2 separate regions of the Homo sapiens genome follow, and region 2 is linked to region 1. Evidence: promoter capture Hi-C in human tissues and cell types (Jung and others, 2019). All regions are on one chromosome and are shown on one strand. Each heading gives the region's core, a stretch centred on a gene start or on the middle of the fragment in contact. The rest is flanking DNA. Distances are from core to core; before and after follow the strand shown. Region 1 holds the start of DBX1 (developing brain homeobox 1). Region 2 overlaps NAV2 (neuron navigator 2).

What was found. The method cuts DNA at HindIII sites, captures the fragments that hold promoters and counts their contacts. A contact is called where the count stands out against the background at its distance.
Region 2: a contact is called between a fragment that was not itself captured here and the fragment with the promoter of DBX1 in region 1, in 4 of the 25 tissues and cell types used here (bladder, dorsolateral prefrontal cortex, heart right ventricle and 1 more).

The regions. Positions count from the first base shown.
Region 1 is chr11:20,158,421-20,163,929 of GRCh38, forward strand. DBX1 (developing brain homeobox 1) reads right to left here and starts at 2,055. Exons shown (of 4, transcript NM_001029865.4): 1 at 1,538-2,055; 2 at 771-872. The coding sequence starts at 1,904. RefSeq lists enhancers at 2,435-2,936, 2,937-3,436, 4,561-5,062. The HindIII fragment of the contact is 9,910 bases long and covers 1-5,509 here.
Region 2 is chr11:19,982,297-19,987,525 of GRCh38, forward strand. It overlaps NAV2 (neuron navigator 2), which reads left to right. Exons shown (of 38, transcript NM_145117.5): 11 at 1,829-1,951. Among named protein-coding and RNA genes, the nearest start is that of NAV2-AS3, 3.5 kb to the left of the region's middle. The HindIII fragment of the contact is 7,575 bases long and covers 1-5,229 here.

The DNA of each region.
Region 1 (5,509 bases), core at 805-3,304:
TTTTGAGCCATAGTTTGAATCATCAGTGAGGTTACAGGAAGAAAACCTGGTGGAAGCTGCCTAAGGTGTTGCTGTTTTAGGCTGGGACACAATTATGGGCTTTCTTCTAACTGCTTCTTATTTTGCAAGATCAACGGTATTTTATAATACAGGGTGGGAAAGGAGTATGAGAAGGGGTTTGGAAATCAGGCTGGAAATAGGTTGGGATTGGGGGAGGATCTAATCCCCCTCCCCCTGGGCGACCCTAGGCATCCCACACAAGAGGGCACCCCATGTGGTCTTGTGAAAAGCCCGAAGCCCTGAATGAGTCTTAAAGAGAAATTAGCCCCGGCTGGTAGGTGTCTCTCGGCGGCGTGGAGGGACTAGGGCCGGTCTGTGTGTGGCTGCCCGGAGGAGCTGACCAATTGGTCATGGTGCTGAAACCTTTGTGGGGAATCGTGGCCAAGTGCACTGACTCTGTGGGAAAACGGCGGCGTGAAGGGATGCCAACAGCTCCTCGCCGGGAAGGGAACCGCCTCAAATTGGGACCATGACAATTCCTGCTAATTTGTAGAGCAGGGAATTGGTGCAAAGTGTCAAGCAGTCACTGCTTGTGCTCAATAGGGCATCAAATTGGCGCGACGGATTCATGAATGTTATACGCCTCGCAACCTCTGAACCAGAGCATAACCCCGAGGGGTGGACGGAGAAATACGGCTTCGGAGCAGGGAGCGATGGGCCGGGGCTGGGGCGCCGCCCTGCCTCGCGCAAAGAAGGGGGACGAGACCTACCTGGGAAATAAGAAGATCTGATGAAAGGCTGAAAAGACCCTTCGAAGTAGGGAAAGGCGAAGGTCTTGGGAGGGACGCTCTGGAGCAAGGCTGGGGATGTTTCTGGTGGGCGATGGAGGGGGGACAGAAGGAGAGAGGGAGACAGAAAGAATCTGATTACGTACTTGCCTATTGTATAGCACACTGAACACACGATATAATTAGCCCTTCATCTGGTTTCAAAGACATCTTTCTTATACGTTGACAGGGTAAAATAAATCTTCCCAACATTGTCTTATCTGTAAAACTCTTTTCTTTCTCCCCAACGTAATTCTCTGCGCCGTCCCACTCTACCCCAATCTCCATCCTAGGCACTAACGAGATAGGACTGAGTGGGGAGGAAAGAAATTGCAGATTTATAATATTTGCTAATCCAATAAATATATCATATTGAGTTTAAAAAAAAAAACTGTCTCCTAGAAGCTCGAAGGCAGAAACGCAGACGTCCAGGAGCGTGCGCTCAGCGTTACTGCACCAGATGACTGCGCACAGTCTCCGACTGCGTGTGCTCAAGTTCACTCCGAGGATGGGGCGAGCCTGGAGGCTTTTCTTCCCCGGAATTGACTGGACTATTCTCACATTGCCTGACGTAGGGTCTCAGAGTTCGTGCGTATTGTGTGTGCACCGATGTGTGTGTGGGGGCCCGCTCGCTAGAGGAAACTGAGGCCAGGATGACTCCGCGCATGCCTAGTACCTGAATGGGCCCTTAGGGTTCTGACCTCGCTTACCTGTTCTGGGCCCCGAGGAGAGGATGGCGTTCACTCCAAACTTCAGAAACGTCGTCTCGCTGGCAGGGGAGAAGGCAGTCGGCGGAGAGCCGCCCCGTCGGCTGCCGGGACCCGGGGAGCCCAGGTCCGAGGCCCCCGTGTCGGTGAGGGCCGTGGGGGCCCCCTGCCTGGGCGGCGACATGCTGGCGGTGGGCACGCTGCGGGGCAGGTAGGCGGGGGGTCGGCTGATGCGGATCAGATCCTCCACCAGGAAGCTGGAGTGGCCGGAAAATGCCGACTGCAAGGACTGGGGCAGCGTCAAGGTGGGCGTGGGCCGCAGGAGGCTAGGGTACCCGGCGGGGGGCGCGAGGAGGCCGGGGAACATCATGGTAGGCGCGGGCGGGCGAAATAACCCTTCTTTCAGTGGCCGGAGGGTAAACGCCTCGCTTCCCGCCCCTCCCGCCCCCACAGTGTCCTCTCTCTTGGGCTTAGCAAACGTCTCCAAGTAACAATCCCACTTGGGCGTCTGCGAGTCCTCCGTGGTCCTCTCGTCGAGGTGATGGTTTTATAGTGGCCCGCCCGCTAAAGCACTTTGAAAAGTGACAGCTCTGACAATGAAGTTCAACAAAGTTCTCCACTCGAGCTTCATTCGCCGGAGGCTCTGGACTCTCTGATTGGCGCAGGGGTGCAATTTATGATTGGATTAGTCTTCATAAGCATGGCCCGCACAATGGGCCGGCAACAAAGGCCCGCGCGCATCAATTTTGCATATCGACCGCCTCTTTGCAATACAGTGCGCCCCCAAAGCTCTCGCCAAAGGTTTTTGTTCCGAAGCAACACCCGGGCTAATTAAATGCCTATTTAGAAGTTTCAGATGACATCTTGCCTCATAGAAAAGGAATTATTTAAAGAACCCACTAAATTTATTTGCAGCTCCCCTGCTAAGCCTGGAAAATAAATCAATAAATATTCATAGAAATACATCTTCAGGCTATCAGCAAAGTTGCCCTCCCTCTTGTGGGGGTAGGGCAATGAAAAGTTTCAAGTCAGTGGACATGAAAATATACTCCCTTTCCGGTCTCTAGCCCTATCCGTTACTCCAGCTGAAGCATAAAGCAAATGTAGGGGTGAGTGAAATCAGTGTTAGAAGTCCCATTCTGACGACTCAGGGAAACTTGGAAACGGATGCTTTGGGGCCACTGGATGTGTGTCCGTAAGAGTGGGGAGAGGTCTGGAGTTATTTCATTTCGGGAGACTGGTTGAGTTTGAGCGTTGGTGGATACCTGAAAAGTAAAACGAGTCTCCTTCAAATTCCCAGCAACTTGGAAAACGATTTTCTCTAGGAGTTTCTGCAAGGGGCTGTCCGCACCTCACCTTGCGGGAGGAGCGGAGGAGAGCGGCGCTGGGCTGCCGAGCGGCAGGATTCCGCTTGCAAAGAGCTTAGGCTGACCGGAAACTGCCTCGGGCAAGGGTATCCAAAGGCTGTGAGTGCTATGCTGGCCGTTCTCCAAACACAGGGAGCTCTCGGCAGTTTAAGTTGAAACTCACAGCCCTGACATTTTAAGCCATAGCAGCGAAGGTCCAGACGTCGTCTGGAGAGAACCCTACCACTTGCGGGGCCCTTAACTTGGCCCAAGGTTTGGCAGCTTCTTAATTAACTACAACGCACAAACGCGTGAAAACCAGAGGGAAGGGATGCGGTTCCCAAGAATGTTGGTCCACTCCGGGAAAGCCTCCCCTGAATGTGGGGCTTCAAAGGAGAATCTTCCTGGAGACAGTCCCTTCGCTTTCCTCTGGTTGGGGCTGAGGTGGTACTAAGACTCGATTCCCCCCATTTCTCTGTTCGGCGAGATAACAGATGTGTTAAATGTCCCATTCATCTCTTTAGTGTGGCTGAACCTCCCCAAAGAGAAGTGTGCAGCCCCGCCAGGCCGCCCTGATCCTATTAACCATGAACTAACTGTCACCTTCAGCTGGTTTTCCTTTTTGCTTTTTAACACAAAGCTTTCTCAAAAATCTTATTAACCAGCTTTATTTCTCTCGATGGTTTTGTTCGGGGTGTTTTGTGTTGATGATCTCCATGTCGCTGCTTTAACCATTCAATAAAAGTGCATCTGCGATTTATATCACATTAAACCAGAAACGGAGCCGGCTAAAACTCTCCCTTGATTCAAATTAAAAAGTTATTTAGGGCCCAGCTCCAGAGGCGAATTAATGCTAGAAGATGACGTAAGTGCGGAGTTTCTGAGCCCAAGACCGCTCATGCTCATGGGCAGCGGGAGAAAACCAATCAGGAAAGAAACAACTTTTAAATAAGGGGCTATTTAAATATGGGAAGCGCCTTGCTGGAGTTAATTGGAGTCCCCTGGAAACGGAAGAAGGAGATCTGTCGAAGAACGTCAAAAGTTCCTTTTTGAAGTTTGCAATAAAATAGGTGAGAAAAGCATAAGCTATCTGAACACCTGCACTTTAACCTTGCCATGAGACAGTTTCCCATTGCAATAAGACTGGCTCTCTCCCTTCCTCTCCCTTACTTTTTTCCTCAGGCCCACCTCCCTCCTTCTCCCACTCCCTTTCCCTCTGCCCCCCACCCCTTTTTCTCCCCGAGTCTTAAGGACTTGGGCAATTGCCAGTTCCCAGAAGGACGCGCCGGGGGCTTCAGGATGTTTGATTCCCTACCGGTGAAGCGCTTGTCCAAGTCTTCCGGATGATCAGAATAGAGTCTATATTTGCCAAAATCAACTTGGATTTTGTTTTTTTTTGGAGGGGGGAACGGTAAGAACTTGAAGCCAGCGTGAGCCCTTCCCAGCTCCTCCTTCCCTGTTGGGGCATTTGCCGGGGTGTAGTTTTCACCGTTTCCTGTCCGTCGACAGGCTTCATGCCACCCCTAGCCCCCACCCCAAGCCCCAGCCATTCTGCCTCACTATAGACTAACTGCTACTAACTTCTCGGCTTTTAAAAGTCTACCCTGCCATTTTTTGGAGGGTGGATCAACCCCTTGCTGCGATCCACGTGGACCCTGCTTCCTGGGGTCGGTCTCCACAGCCTCCTAAAGAATTCCTAAAGCGCCAAAGAGGAAAAGTGAGGGCGGGGGCGAGGGGGCGAGGGCTGGCCGCCCGTGAAAGGAAAAATAAATCCTAAGGAAGCAAGAAATCGGACGAAAGGATCTTACTTTAAGTGATCTCCTTGAACGCGTCTTTTCAAACTCCGCGATAGCCCAAGGAGCTGCGCGGCGCGGCGGCTGCGGCTAAGACCTGTGACTAATGCCATTTGACCTGAGCCCATGGGGTTTTGTGCGTCCTGCCATTCACTGTTATGTCGTTATCTTCAAGTTTATTTCGGAGAAATCACTCGCGTTCTTTGTCTCAAGGCTGAGCTTTCTGTCTATTTCTCTTTCAAGAGAAAAGAAGACGGGAGGGGAAAAGAGAGAATCGGAGTCCCTGGTTTGGGGTTTAAGGTCCTTGCCTACGCTGCGGGGGAGGCCGCAGCAGATCCGGCTGGGGCTCCCCGGGCCTAGGTGGCCAAAGCTGCCGAAACCTGCCTTGGATAGTAGAAAGAGCGTGTCGGAACGCACTCTGGGGGTTTCGTTCCCCCCGCGCAGGGGAGAGCGAGCATGTTCCTGCCCCGGGCGCCGTGCGGTCGCAGCAGCAGCGCGGCCCTCTCCAGTGCGAGCCGTGCCTGGAATGTCTCGGGTAAGCGAAGGGCCAGCAAGCGAGGCGAAACGGACACTATAAAGCAGAGAGTGGTGTGAGCTTCCCCGCCCTCTGAAAAGATGGCAAGTCTCCGTTTCGGGAAGGCTGCAACGCTAAGGTCACCCTTTGCAGGCTTCGGACCCCCAGTCCTCCATGCTCCCTGCCGGAGCAGCCAACAGAGTGAGAGCGCATTTTGGAAAGATTGGCCGGATGCCGGGCGGCGACAGGGAAAAGCGCCCGACGCCTGGCTTTGGGGTGGGGGGTGTGGGGAGGGGGGGCAGGGAGCTAACGGGCGAGGCGA
Region 2 (5,229 bases), core at 1,481-3,980, 180 kb before region 1:
TCACTCTGTCGCCCAGGCTGGAGAGCAGTGGCACGATCTCGGCTCACTGCAACCTCCACCTCCCGGGTTCAAGTGATTCTCCTGCCTCAGCCTCCCAAGTAGCTGGGACTACAACAGGTGCATGCCACGTGCCCGGCTAAAAATTCACCATTTTAAAGCATACAATTTGATGGTTTTTAATGTATTCACAGAGTGGTTTTTAAAATGATAAAGTTGAGTGAAAACTTCAGTCTCTTCTGTTGCATTTTCAGCACAAGCACAAACACTTAGTCTGATTTACTCCAACAGATTTCTCATTATGTTGATATTGTGACCTTGGGGATCATTAATGTCATAAAGGGAGGAGCAGGGAACATTGGAGGTGTTGAATTTAGCCACAGTAGCTTAGAAGCTTCCTGGGTTCCTCTTACCCATTCTGGAAGGTGCTTTTCACATGAGATAACTCCAGTGAGAATTTTCTTCTCTGCCCCTTACTTGAACTTCCTGGTCTGGGCAGCCTCGTCTGCATCTCATAATTCTGTTCTTGAAAAATATATCCTAAAAAGGTCCCCAGCTACAGGTAGAAGAAATTCAAGGATTGGGAACCCTCAGGGTCGACTCCATATATGCAAAAGTTAAAATGGCAAGTGCAATTAAGCTTTCCATGACGTAGCTCAGCTGACCCTGTTTCAGAAAAATAATGACTCATTGGTCCTCTTACTACATATTACTTGATTTGAAATGTAAAATGCTTGCATTTTCAGATACCTTGCAGGGTGATCTGATGGGGCCCATAAGGGATTGAAGGGATCCAAGTTTGGTTTCTGGCTCTGCCCAAGTTTTGCTTTGCCTTCCTGTTCTCCTCTGAAGATGAGGGAAATGACAAAACCAGTCTCCTTTATGGGGGCTGTGAGGAAGCCAAGGTAGATATGAGGTACAGCTGCCTTGGACTGAGCTACCTCCTACTAGTGGCTAAGCTTTCAGGAACTTGTCTGGTTGGTAGACAATCAGCCATCTGTACAGAAAGTTCCAGACATCCTCCCTCTCAAGAACAGCACTGATTTCATCAGAAGACAGCTTTGTAGTATTACCAAAAAAAGAATAAACTAGCATTAGTGTTGTTCAGAGTTTTGTGGCAACCCCCTGAAAACATCAGTATCAAGGGTGAAATTCACCTCATGATCGTGACAACCGTAATGTCTTCCACTTATATAGCCTTACACAAATTTCAGTGCACTTTCATATTCCTTATCTCACTAATTCTCATGCCCATGTTGTGATATTCCCACATGTCACAGGCCGTGATAGTCCTATAGCCTGGGTGAAAAACTCACCATCCAGGGAAGGGACTCGCCTGTGATGGCAAAGGCCACTCATCTATCCTCTCTCCTTTCTTTCCCCCTCTCTCAAAAGCCTGCCTGCTTTTTCCACTCACTGTTCTGTAATATTATTGCCTATGATTTGCTAATGATTTGTCAGTTCCATTTCCGTTACTCAGGTAAAACACCTGCTTGTATAATCGCTGACATTGAAAAGAATGTCATGAATCCATGTGACAGTTAATTTTATTCCCTAGTTCCCGTCTGCGTCGTAGGTACCTGTGAGTTTGGGTTAATTAAGCTGAGTTCGCTCTCTTTTTTCACCTTTTTGTTAGCGAGCTGGGGATCCTCTAGGTTGGATCAGCAGCTGAGTTATCCTTGGGCTGTGATCAGTGCCAGAGCCTCAGGGAATCCTCCGTTTCTTCCCCCTTAGAGCACTTGGCGGCTGTACAGGCTTCTGGATATGAATGCAAGCCTGGAAGCCACTTGCTTTGGACATTCATGTGCATCATCTTCTTCTCCTTTTAAAGATACATGACTGATGGTGGACTTGGCCTCTATACCCGTCGCCTGAACCGGCTCCCTGATGGGATGGCTGTGGTACGGGAGACCCTGCAACGAAATACCTCCCTGGGCCTCGGAGACGCTGACAGGTAAGCTTGCTGCACTTGGGGCTGGTCAGATGCAGAGGTGATCCCAGGGGGGCCCTGAGAAATGAGGGTTATGATATTGGGAGAGTGAATGGAGACTTGAACCCACAGAGAGGGAGGGGAGGCCTGGAATCTGTACCTGGGGTTAGGAGCAGGTACAGTAGGTAGGAAAGGGCTGCCGAGGGTTCTTGAGTCCTGCTTCTGTGTAGGGTGGTGCTTCTGACAGCAGTAACACAGGGAGTTCAGGCTTGGGTGGTTTTGGTTATTGTTTTGCTTGTTGCTACTGTGTCTTTGTCAGTTCAGCAGGCCCTAGGGATGTGCTTTACTTCCTCTCTCATTAGCCAGCTTTCTAGGTATTGCACCTTGTGGCACAGAAGGTCTGTGTGCAGAAGGGATCTCTCCTAGCCTTGGCTGAGCAGCCTTCACCAAAAAGCCTCCTGTTGCATGGTAATAGGAGGCAATGCTTAAGGACATGGGTTTAGACACCACATGCTAAGTAGTTGACATCATAGAGGTTGATCAGGCGTCACTGCCACTGCTGTCAGGGAAGAAAAGAGGTTCAGAAAATACTGTGGTAATAAAAGAGGACTATTTGGCCTCCAGGTTCTAGTTCTTACTCTGACAAACTGATTCTATGACCCTGAGCAACCGATGAAGTGAGGAGTTTGGACTATATGATTTCTATGATCCCTTCCAGTTCTAATGTTCTATAATTCTGGATTTCAGTGCAGATTTCAAATACCCTTAATGATCTGGCTGTTTAAGGATTTGCTGGAACACTTGACTTCTTTCCACATCTGGGTTGATGAGATGTAACATGGAATTTAGATGCAAGTGGTTTAAAATGACCATAGACTTTTTGGGTACTAAACCTTTTATGTCAGAAAGCCAAATAGTAGCACAACAACAGCTTCCTGCTGTTCCCAGGGCATGCTTTTTACAAAGAGCTAAGTGACTTCTGTAATTGTGTGGCTTTAGAGAAATAGGACAGCACACCAAAGAGACAGATACTGAAATCACACCCAGAGATGGAATTTGCTGAAGAAGAATCTTCATGTTCTCTCAGGGAAGGCTGGGAAACACTGAATGAGTTGTTAGGAACTTGGGATCTGGCCCAGTCTCTACCACTAACTTGAATGTGTCCTCCTTAGAGTCCCCCCAGTGCCCAGGCTTGTGATTTATATCAGGGATGTTAAAAGGCCTTCCACTAGGGTTCTAGCTCAAGTCAGATTTTTTCCTGTAATTAACAAAGAAAGGAATGGGTTTGAAAAGTCCATAGAAACATGAACCATTTGAGAAAAAAAAGTTTTTTTTGTTTTTTTGTTGTTGTTTGTTTGTTTGTTTGTTTTTGAGACAGAGTCTCACTCTGTCACCCAGGCTGGAGTGCAGTGGCATGATCCTGGCTTACTGCAACCTCCATCTCCCGGGTTCAAGCAATTCTCCTGCCTCAGCCTCCCAAGTAGGTGAGATTATAGGCGTGTACCAGCATGCCCAGCTAATTTTGAATTTTTAGTAGAGACGGGGTTTCACCATGTTGGCCAGGCTGGTCTCGAACTCTCGAATTCAGGTGATCCACCTGCCTCGGCCTCCCAAAGTGCTGGGATTACAGGCGTGAGCCACTGCGCCCGGGCTGAGAACTGCTCTTACTAAGGAGAAACTAAACTCTCTGTAACTAAAATCTTTATAGTAAATAATAACAGTAAAAAAAAATCAGTTGCTACAACACCCCCACTGGAGATTTGACAATTTGCCAAATTATTTTGCTTATTTGTATTCTTCTATCCGTTGTTTAGTAAATCTATCCACATAAAATACAGTCCTTACAAGATACAGTTTTCCTTGTAGCAGAAGAATCTATGCTAGGCAGTTTAATTTAATGCTTCATTGTAAGATTAATGGGATTACTATAGATCACAGTTGAGCTTGTTTCCTGCTTCTGGAGATGGAGGATGAGGGTGGGGTTGAAAAGATAGGTAGCACTTGTTAGGTTGTTTTAGTTCAGCCTGTATGGTTAAACCAAATGGACAACAATGTCCTTTGGTTCTCTCCAGACTGGAATGCTCCGATATGATCATTTATTTAAAACTGAATGAGTCCGGGCATGGTGGCTCACGCCTGTAATCTCAGCACTTTGGGAGGCCAAGGCGGGCAGATCACCTGAGGTCAGGAGTTTGAGACCAGCCTGGCAAACATGATGAAACCCTGTCTCTACTAAGAATGCAAAAATTAGCCGTTTGTGGTGATGCACAACTGTAATCCCAGCTACTCGGGAGAGGGAGGCATGAGAATTGCTTGAACCCGGGAGGCAGAGGTTGCAATGAGCCGAGATTGTGCCATTGCAGCCATTGCATTCCAGCCTGGGCAACAGAGTGAGACTCAGTCTCAAAACAAAAAACAAACTGAGTGGATAACTGACAAAGTTTTAAAGAAAGAACTCAGATGGCTTTTTAAAGACATAGGATTTGCAAAAGACTACAAATTTACCCTTGTTTTACATAAGTTCTGGCCTATAGGCAAGGAGATATTTTCCATTATTCTAGAATATGCTAAATTTTTATAACTTCCAAAGTTATTATGAGCTGACCATAGTAATACTTCATCTTTGGCTAAGTTGAAATAGTACATTTGTTTCTGTAAAATTCTTTATGTAAATCGCAAATTTAGTCTCATGTAGTTACAAAATCTATATTCTAAATGAGTGTTTCCCAAAGTGGGAGGCTATCATGGTGGTATAGGAGATAGTTTTAGATGGCAGATAGGAAAATACTCCTTTTTAATAATTACATTTTAATTTTAATATTTTTTTAAAAACTTACAACTAGCACATCAAACCTGTGATTTTACAAATGCTGCTTAAGGTAAGGATAGTGTAGACTTGAGACAATTTAATGTGAAATATCAAGGAAGAATATCACAGGTGGTATGTAGTTATATCAGAAAACAAAGGTAGTATGCAAGTGGCTGCAATTTCGATAATACTGTTCTTGTCCCTGTAATTGGAAATATGTTCTTTAAACAACTTAGATAATTGACCCGAATTCTTTCCTTTAAACCTGAAAATCGAAGGTCCCAGAGCTAAGGTTTTTCCAGGAAGTTCTGTATAAAAAGATAGCCTGGTCCTTTTTCCATTCACACATAAGCAATAGACCACATGAGTTCTACAAAGGAAAGAGGAAAAGTACTGAGTGATTAGACCTGATTAGACCTCAGCAAACGAAAGAAAGGCAGATCACTGTGTGAATAAGAAAATTAATAACCACAGCCAAGCAGCTGGGGAGAAC